2 separate regions of the Homo sapiens genome follow, and region 1 is linked to region 2. The links are contacts of gene promoters, found by promoter capture Hi-C in human tissues and cell types (Jung and others, 2019). All regions are on one chromosome and are shown on one strand. Each heading gives the region's core, a stretch centred on a gene start or on the middle of the fragment in contact. The rest is flanking DNA. Distances are from core to core; before and after follow the strand shown. Region 1 overlaps CCDC60 (coiled-coil domain containing 60). Region 2 holds the start of TMEM233 (transmembrane protein 233).

Region 1 (3,366 bases), core at 413-2,912, 77 kb before region 2:
GAACTCCTGAACTCAAGCAATCCTCCCACCCCGGCCTCCCAAAGTGCTGAGATTATAGGTGTGAGCCACTGCACCCAGCCAAAATCAATATTAAATATGAAAATAAAAGCTAGGCCAAGGCAAGGAGGGGTGGTGGGAGCTGTGGGGAGCTAGAGAGCAGTCGCCTATCTAAAGGCACGTCCAGCATGCAGCAGGAATGGGGGCAGTGTAGTCCCATCTCAGACTCCTTTCTAGGGAAGCTGGAGGTCTGGATTTTCATGTGAAATCTTCCAGTGTTAAAAGATTGGCATCCACATGGAATCAAATAAAACACATTTGTAAGCTGAATTCAGCCTGTGGATTGCTGGTTTAAAACTTCAGGCCTATGGAGATCAGAGAAGGTTTCCTGAGCAAGATGATTTATTCTCAGCTTTGGAAACAGTTCTCTCTGGCTGCAGTAGAGTTTAAGGTGGGGAAGGGAAGGGAGATGAAATGGGGGATAAAAAGAGAAGCTGGATCCTGGCAGGCCTCACAGGCTGTGTTGAAAGAATTTATTTATGTTTTATTTTTTATTTTATTATTATTGTTATTATTTTGATTCAGAGTCTAACTGTATCACCCAGGCTGGAGTGCAGTGGCATGATCTCGGCTCGCTGCAACCTCTGCCTCTCAGGTTCAAGCAATTTTCATGCCTCAGCCCCCTGAGAAGCTGAAATTACAGACATCCACCACCACGCCCAGCTGATTTTTGTATTTTTTGTAGAGGTAGGGTTTCACCATGTTGGCCAGGCTGGTTTCAAACTCCTGGCCTCAAGTGATCCACCTGCCTTGACCTCTCAAAGTACTGGCATTACAGGCATTAGCCAAACGTAACACAGAACCACTGATGGGTTTTAAGCAGGGGCGTGGCATGGTCAGATTTGCAACATGCCCAACACTATCAGCCACCTCTTCTGGACCCCAGTGGAATCTCTCTCCAGATCTCCAACCCTCAGGAGCAGAGGTGACCCCAGTTTGGGGGGCTGCACCCTGTTCTGCACAATCCTGTCTCAGGGGTGGCTTCTGGTCAAGGGTGACCTCTCATATTCTCATCAGATCTGCAGAAGCTCCTGGAGATGGTTCGGGAAGATGCCCGGAGGACAGTCACAATAGAAAATGGGATGCAAAGAAAAGCACCCAGGTATGTGCTCTTGACTCCTGGGGCAAATAAAGCTTAGAATAATAGCAATCACATTAACAGTAGTAGTTGCCAACTGTTGAGCATTTTCTCTGTGACAGGCACTGAGCTGTGTTGTTTATGTGTATCACCTCTCTGAGTTCTTACAATAATCCTACAAGGTAGGTACTATTATCTTTATTTTACAAATCAAGAAATGAGGCTCAGAGAGCCTATGTGACTAGTTCAAGGTCACTCAGCTAGTGAATGATAAGGCCATGACTCTAATCTAGACCTTTCTTACCAATTTATTTTTGTCTCTGAGACAGGGTCTCGCTCTGTTGCCCAAGCTGAAGTGCAGTGGCACAATCATAGCTCACTGCAGCCTCCAACTCCTGGACTCAAGTGATCCTCCCAACTCAGCCTCCCACGTAGCTGGGACTACAGGCACACACCACCACATCTGGCTAATTTTTTTTTTATTATTATTTTGTAGAGACAGGGTCTCGCTATACTGCCCAGGCTGGCCTCAAACTCATGGCTTAAGTGATCCTCCCACCTCGGCCTCCCAAAATGCTGGGATTACAGATGTGAATCACCATACCTGGCAAATCCAGACATTTCTAATTCCAAAAACCATTCTCTTTGCCATTCTGCCACACTGCTTCTCAGGAATCTTCTGGTTATTCATTCCTCCTTTGAGTGAATATTTATGAACATGTATGGGCTGTGTACTCATTATTATTGTGAGAAGTGTCCATTAAAGGAAAGCTTGAAACTGTGAGAACAAATAATAATGGCATTTGACCTAGTCTGGGTTGGGGATGGGGATCAGAGAAGTTTCCTCCAAGGAAGAAGCTTTAAGCTGAGATTTGGATAAAGCATGTAAATGAGCCAGCCTGATGAGGCTGGCATGGGCGGGTAGGGAGGTGGGGAAGAGAGTATTATAGGCAGCACATGTGCAAACGTGGTCAAAAGGGACCACAACACCTTCAGGGAACTGAAATGCAGCCAAAAAGGGATGAAACTCAAGGATTCTGGTTTTTATTCTAAGAGCAGCGGGAATCCTTTGAAGTTTCAAGCCAGCAACCGATATGATTAGCTCATAAGGAGGTACTATCAGACTTGAACCTAAGACATCCGCTTTCTGGTGGGAAGCCTCGTCCACAGACTTCTGACCTCTAAAAGCCCCAGAGAGCACACAGCCTAGAGCCAGAGCTCCCTTCCCAGGTGTGGATTCCTTTGAGTAAGCAAATTCCTTCCTGAAAATAAATGAGGCACTAGAAGAGGTTCATCATCACCTTCAGCCCACTGGGATGCCAACTATGACTTATTGGTTATTGTTATTACCACAATTACAGTTCACTGCGCACTTTCACATGCATCACACCTCGCCTCTGCTTGTGAATGATGAATTCGCTGGCTGCTGCCTCAACTCTCATTGGGGCTGCTCTGGAAGGTGGCACTTGGAGGCACTCAGAGACAATGCTGACCCATAAGGCCCCCACTGCTGTGCCTGATTTATAAGCATTAGAGACAGACAATAATAATGAAGCATCAGCTCAATGAGGCTCCTTCCTTTGTAAGAACCCACAGCACAAGCACTGGCTTTGGAGTCAGACTGATGTGGATCCAAAACCTATTGCCCTTGGACAAGTCATCTAGCCTTTCTCTAAACCTCTGTTTTCTCATCTGTAAAATGAGATTGTGTCGCATCAAAGCTTGGCTTTGGAACCAGACAAACTAAGGTCAGGCTCCATGGCCATGACTAATTGCCGGGTTATGTTGGGCAAGTTGCTTCACCTCTCTGAGTCTGATTCTCATTCTGTAAAATGAGGCTCATTAGCAGCCAATCCCAAAGGGTTGTAGTGAGAATAAGATAATATTATCCCTGTAAAATATTACTAATGTTATGGAAATAACATCTAGTTCAATGAAACATTTTAAGCACTTAATCAGATAATGCATTTATTTAACATATTAGCATGTGCCTGGCATAGAGTAAGTATTCAATAAATGGCAGTGAGGTTGGTGGTGGGGATGGTGGTGGGGACGGTTGTTACTTTTATCTCACACATGTTGCCCCATGGAATCTTCTCCTGCTGAGACAGGTACATTCACCATTACCATCACCCCATCCCATATATGTCAAAGAGCAACAAGCAGTGACTTCCATAAGGTCTTCAAAGACAAAACCACTCTAGACCCTGGCTCTCATGAGACCATCACAT
Region 2 (3,116 bases), core at 26-2,525:
CCAAGAAGATGATTAATAGTTTCAAGTATGATGATGTGAGCAATTGCTTTTGACACTGCATGATCAAATTATTTTCATTTCTTTGTGGTCCTGCAGCTCAGAATACCTGGATTTTTGGTGAAATATTAGCAAGGGATATCAAGTTTAGGATACTGTATAATGCACTATATGTTTCAGAATATAAGGAGAAATAGTATGCTAATAATAGCTAATATTTATTGAGCACATGGATTGACCTGGATAATGTACCATCTCATAGAAGAGTCACTACGACTTTATGAGGCAGGGACTATTATTTCCCCTTTTTCAGATGGAGAAATAGGGGCTTAGCAAGATGAAGGGGCTTTCCTGAAGTGACAATTTCCTAGTTCTGTCTGGATTCAAGCTTCAGTTCTGGTCCATACGGCCCTCTCATGAATAGCTTAGACACTGATACAATTGCTTTTCTCACACTAGTCCCCAAAGTGGATACCTTGTTCTTCTTCCCAGCCCACTCATCCATCTAGGTTGCCTAGGCCAGCCTGATCTACCTGCATTTCTCCCCAGGGGTCCTGCAGGTGGAAAAGTGGAAAGAAGAATTCCTTGTTTCCACACTGGGGAGGGCACCTGGACGGGCATGGACCGGGCAGTGCCCACTGACTGACTATACTGGACTCCAGTCTCTTGAGCCCCAAGTAGAATGTGGAAAGCTTTGAGGCCAAAGCTGGGCACCTGGTTCCCACCCCACCTGGGGGAGGGGGTCGGGGGGAGGAGAAATTCCTGGGGCTCAGTGTTCAAGGTCTGAGGCACAGGAGACAAATCAAATGCCCAGGCACCAGACAGTTAAGGTAAAACGTTGAAGTCAAGAGGAAGTAGTGAGTCTGTTGCCAACTGGATAGGGTTGGTCCTGTCCCATCTAAATGTATTAGAATTAAGTGGCTTTTAAAAATGAGCTGGTCATCTTCAGCCCACGGGCTGGCCAATTTGGAACTTAATGGGCCTTTGCGTCCTCCTTCCCTGAGCCTCCTTTTATTCCAGACTTCTCAGTGTGAGTCTGTGCGTCCCTCCGACGATCTCAGGGAGTGGGGTGCCTTCATCTGCCTGTTCCCTGTTCCTCAGGCTGACGCTCCCGCTGTCCTCCCCGCCTCCCCTCACTCCTTTTCTCCCTCCCTTCCTCCTTGTGGGGAGGCTCTTGGCCAGGGTCCCTGAGCCCGGGCGGGTGCTGGCAGAGGACGCAGAAGGGGTGAGGTCACGTCTCCCTTGAGCCCCGAGCCGCTGGCTTTTCAGAGCCTCGCCACAAGCCGGCGGCCAGAGCCCCAGACCACACAGACCGTGCGCTCCTCCGCCCTCCCGGCGCCGCCGGCCTCGCCCATGTCTCAGTACGCCCCTAGCCCGGACTTCAAGAGGGCTTTGGACAGCAGTCCCGAGGCCAACACTGAAGATGACAAGACCGAGGAGGACGTGCCCATGCCCAAGAACTACCTGTGGCTCACCATCGTCTCGTGTTTTTGCCCTGCGTACCCCATCAACATCGTGGCTTTGGTCTTTTCCATCATGGTGAGTGAATCACGGCCAGAGGCAGCCTGGGAGGAGAGACCCGGGCGGCTTTGAGCCCCTGCAGGGGAGTCCGCGCGCTCTCTGCGGCTCCCTTCCTCACGGCCCGGCCCGCGCTAGGTGTTCTTTGTCCTCGCACCTCCTCCTCACCTTTCTCGGGCTCTCAGAGCTCTCCCCGCAATCATCAGCACCTCCTCTGCACTCCTCGTGGTACTCAGAGCCCTGATCAAGCTTCCCCCAGGCTAGCTTTCCTCTTCTTTCCAGCTCCCAGGGTGCGTTTCCTCTCCAACCCGGGGAAGTTCTTCCGTGGACTTTGCTGACTCCTCTGACCTTCCTAGGCACTTGCCCGGGGCTTCTCAACCCTCTTTTCTAGAGCCCCAGTGCGCGCCACCCTAGCGAGCGCAGTAAGCTCATACCCCGAGCATGCAGGCTCTACGTTCCTTTCCCTGCCGCTCCGGGGGCTCCTGCTCTCCAGCGCCCAGGACTGTCTCTATCTCAGCCTGTGCTCCCTTCTCTCTTTGCTGCGCCCAAGGGCACCGCTTCCGCCACTCTCCGGGGGGTCCCCAGGCGATTCCTGATGCCCCCTCCTTGATCCCGTTTCCGCGCTTTGGCACGGCACGCTCTGTCCAGGCAACAGTTTCCTCTCGCTTCTTCCTACACCCAACTTCCTCTCCTTGCCTCCCTCCGGCGCCCCCTTTTTAACGCGCCCGAGGCTGGCTCACACCCACTACCTCTTTAGGCCTTTCTTAGGCTCCCCGTGTGCCCCCCTCACCAGCAAAGTGGGTGCGCCTCTCTTACTCTTTCTACCCAGCGCGTCGTAGTTCCTCCCCGTTTGCTGCGCACTGGCCCTAACCTCTCTTCTCTTGGTGTCCCCCAGAGCTCCCAGGCGCCCCTCCACCGCTCTGTCCTGCGCCCGGGGCTCTCCCGGGAATGAACTAGGGGATTCCACGCAACGTGCGGCTCCGCCCGCCCTCTGCGCTCAGACCTCCCGAGCTGCCCGCCTCTCTAGGAGTGGCCGCTGGGGCCTCTAGTCCGCCCTTCCGGAGCTCAGCTCCCTAGCCCTCTTCAACCCTGGTAGGAACACCCGAGCGAACCCCACCAGGAGGGCGACGAGCGCCTGCTAGGCCCTCGCCTTATTGACTGCAGCAGCTGGCCCGGGGGTGGCGGCGGGGTGAGGTTCGTACCGGCACTGTCCCGGGACAACCCTTGCAGTTGCGCTCCCTCCCCCACCGGCTCACCTCGCCTGCAGCTGGGCCACGGAACTCCCCGGCCACAGACGCAGAGCCCTGATTCAGCGCTGTGAAAATCGCTAGCCACCCGTCCCCCATCAAGTCCGCCCACACTTGCCCACGGGTGGTGGCACCATATTCGATTCGTGGGCACCTGCAAGGCTCCATTTGCACCCGTAACTTGCCCTTTCCCAAACCCGGTTTGTGGACAGCGTCTGCACCGATATGAAAGCGTGCAGCCGCTGAAGTTCAGACAAGTCTGTATTCAAATCCCAATTCTCCCACTTTCTAGCTGTGTGATCTCTGAAGTCACTGCATCTCTGAACCTCAGTCTCTTTGTAAAACCAGAATAAT

The links. Contacts are between HindIII fragments. The study calls those that stand out against the background at their distance.
Region 1: a fragment that was not itself captured here is called in contact with the fragment with the promoter of TMEM233 in region 2 in 4 of the 25 tissues and cell types used here (H1 embryonic stem cells, dorsolateral prefrontal cortex, spleen and 1 more).

The regions. Positions count from the first base shown.
Region 1 is chr12:119,515,549-119,518,914 of GRCh38, forward strand. It overlaps CCDC60 (coiled-coil domain containing 60), which reads left to right. Exons shown (of 14, transcript NM_178499.5): 8 at 1,075-1,159. The region is part of intron 2 of PRKAB1-AS1 (PRKAB1, TMEM233 and CCDC60 antisense RNA 1); the gene reads right to left. Among named protein-coding and RNA genes, the nearest start is that of TMEM233, 77 kb to the right of the region's middle. The HindIII fragment of the contact is 3,029 bases long and covers 149-3,177 here.
Region 2 is chr12:119,592,499-119,595,614 of GRCh38, forward strand. TMEM233 (transmembrane protein 233) reads left to right here and starts at 1,276. Exons shown (of 3, transcript NM_001136534.3): 1 at 1,276-1,536. The coding sequence starts at 1,351. The region is part of intron 1 of PRKAB1-AS1 (PRKAB1, TMEM233 and CCDC60 antisense RNA 1); the gene reads right to left. RefSeq lists an enhancer at 1,264-1,837. The HindIII fragment of the contact is 2,865 bases long and covers 538-3,116 here.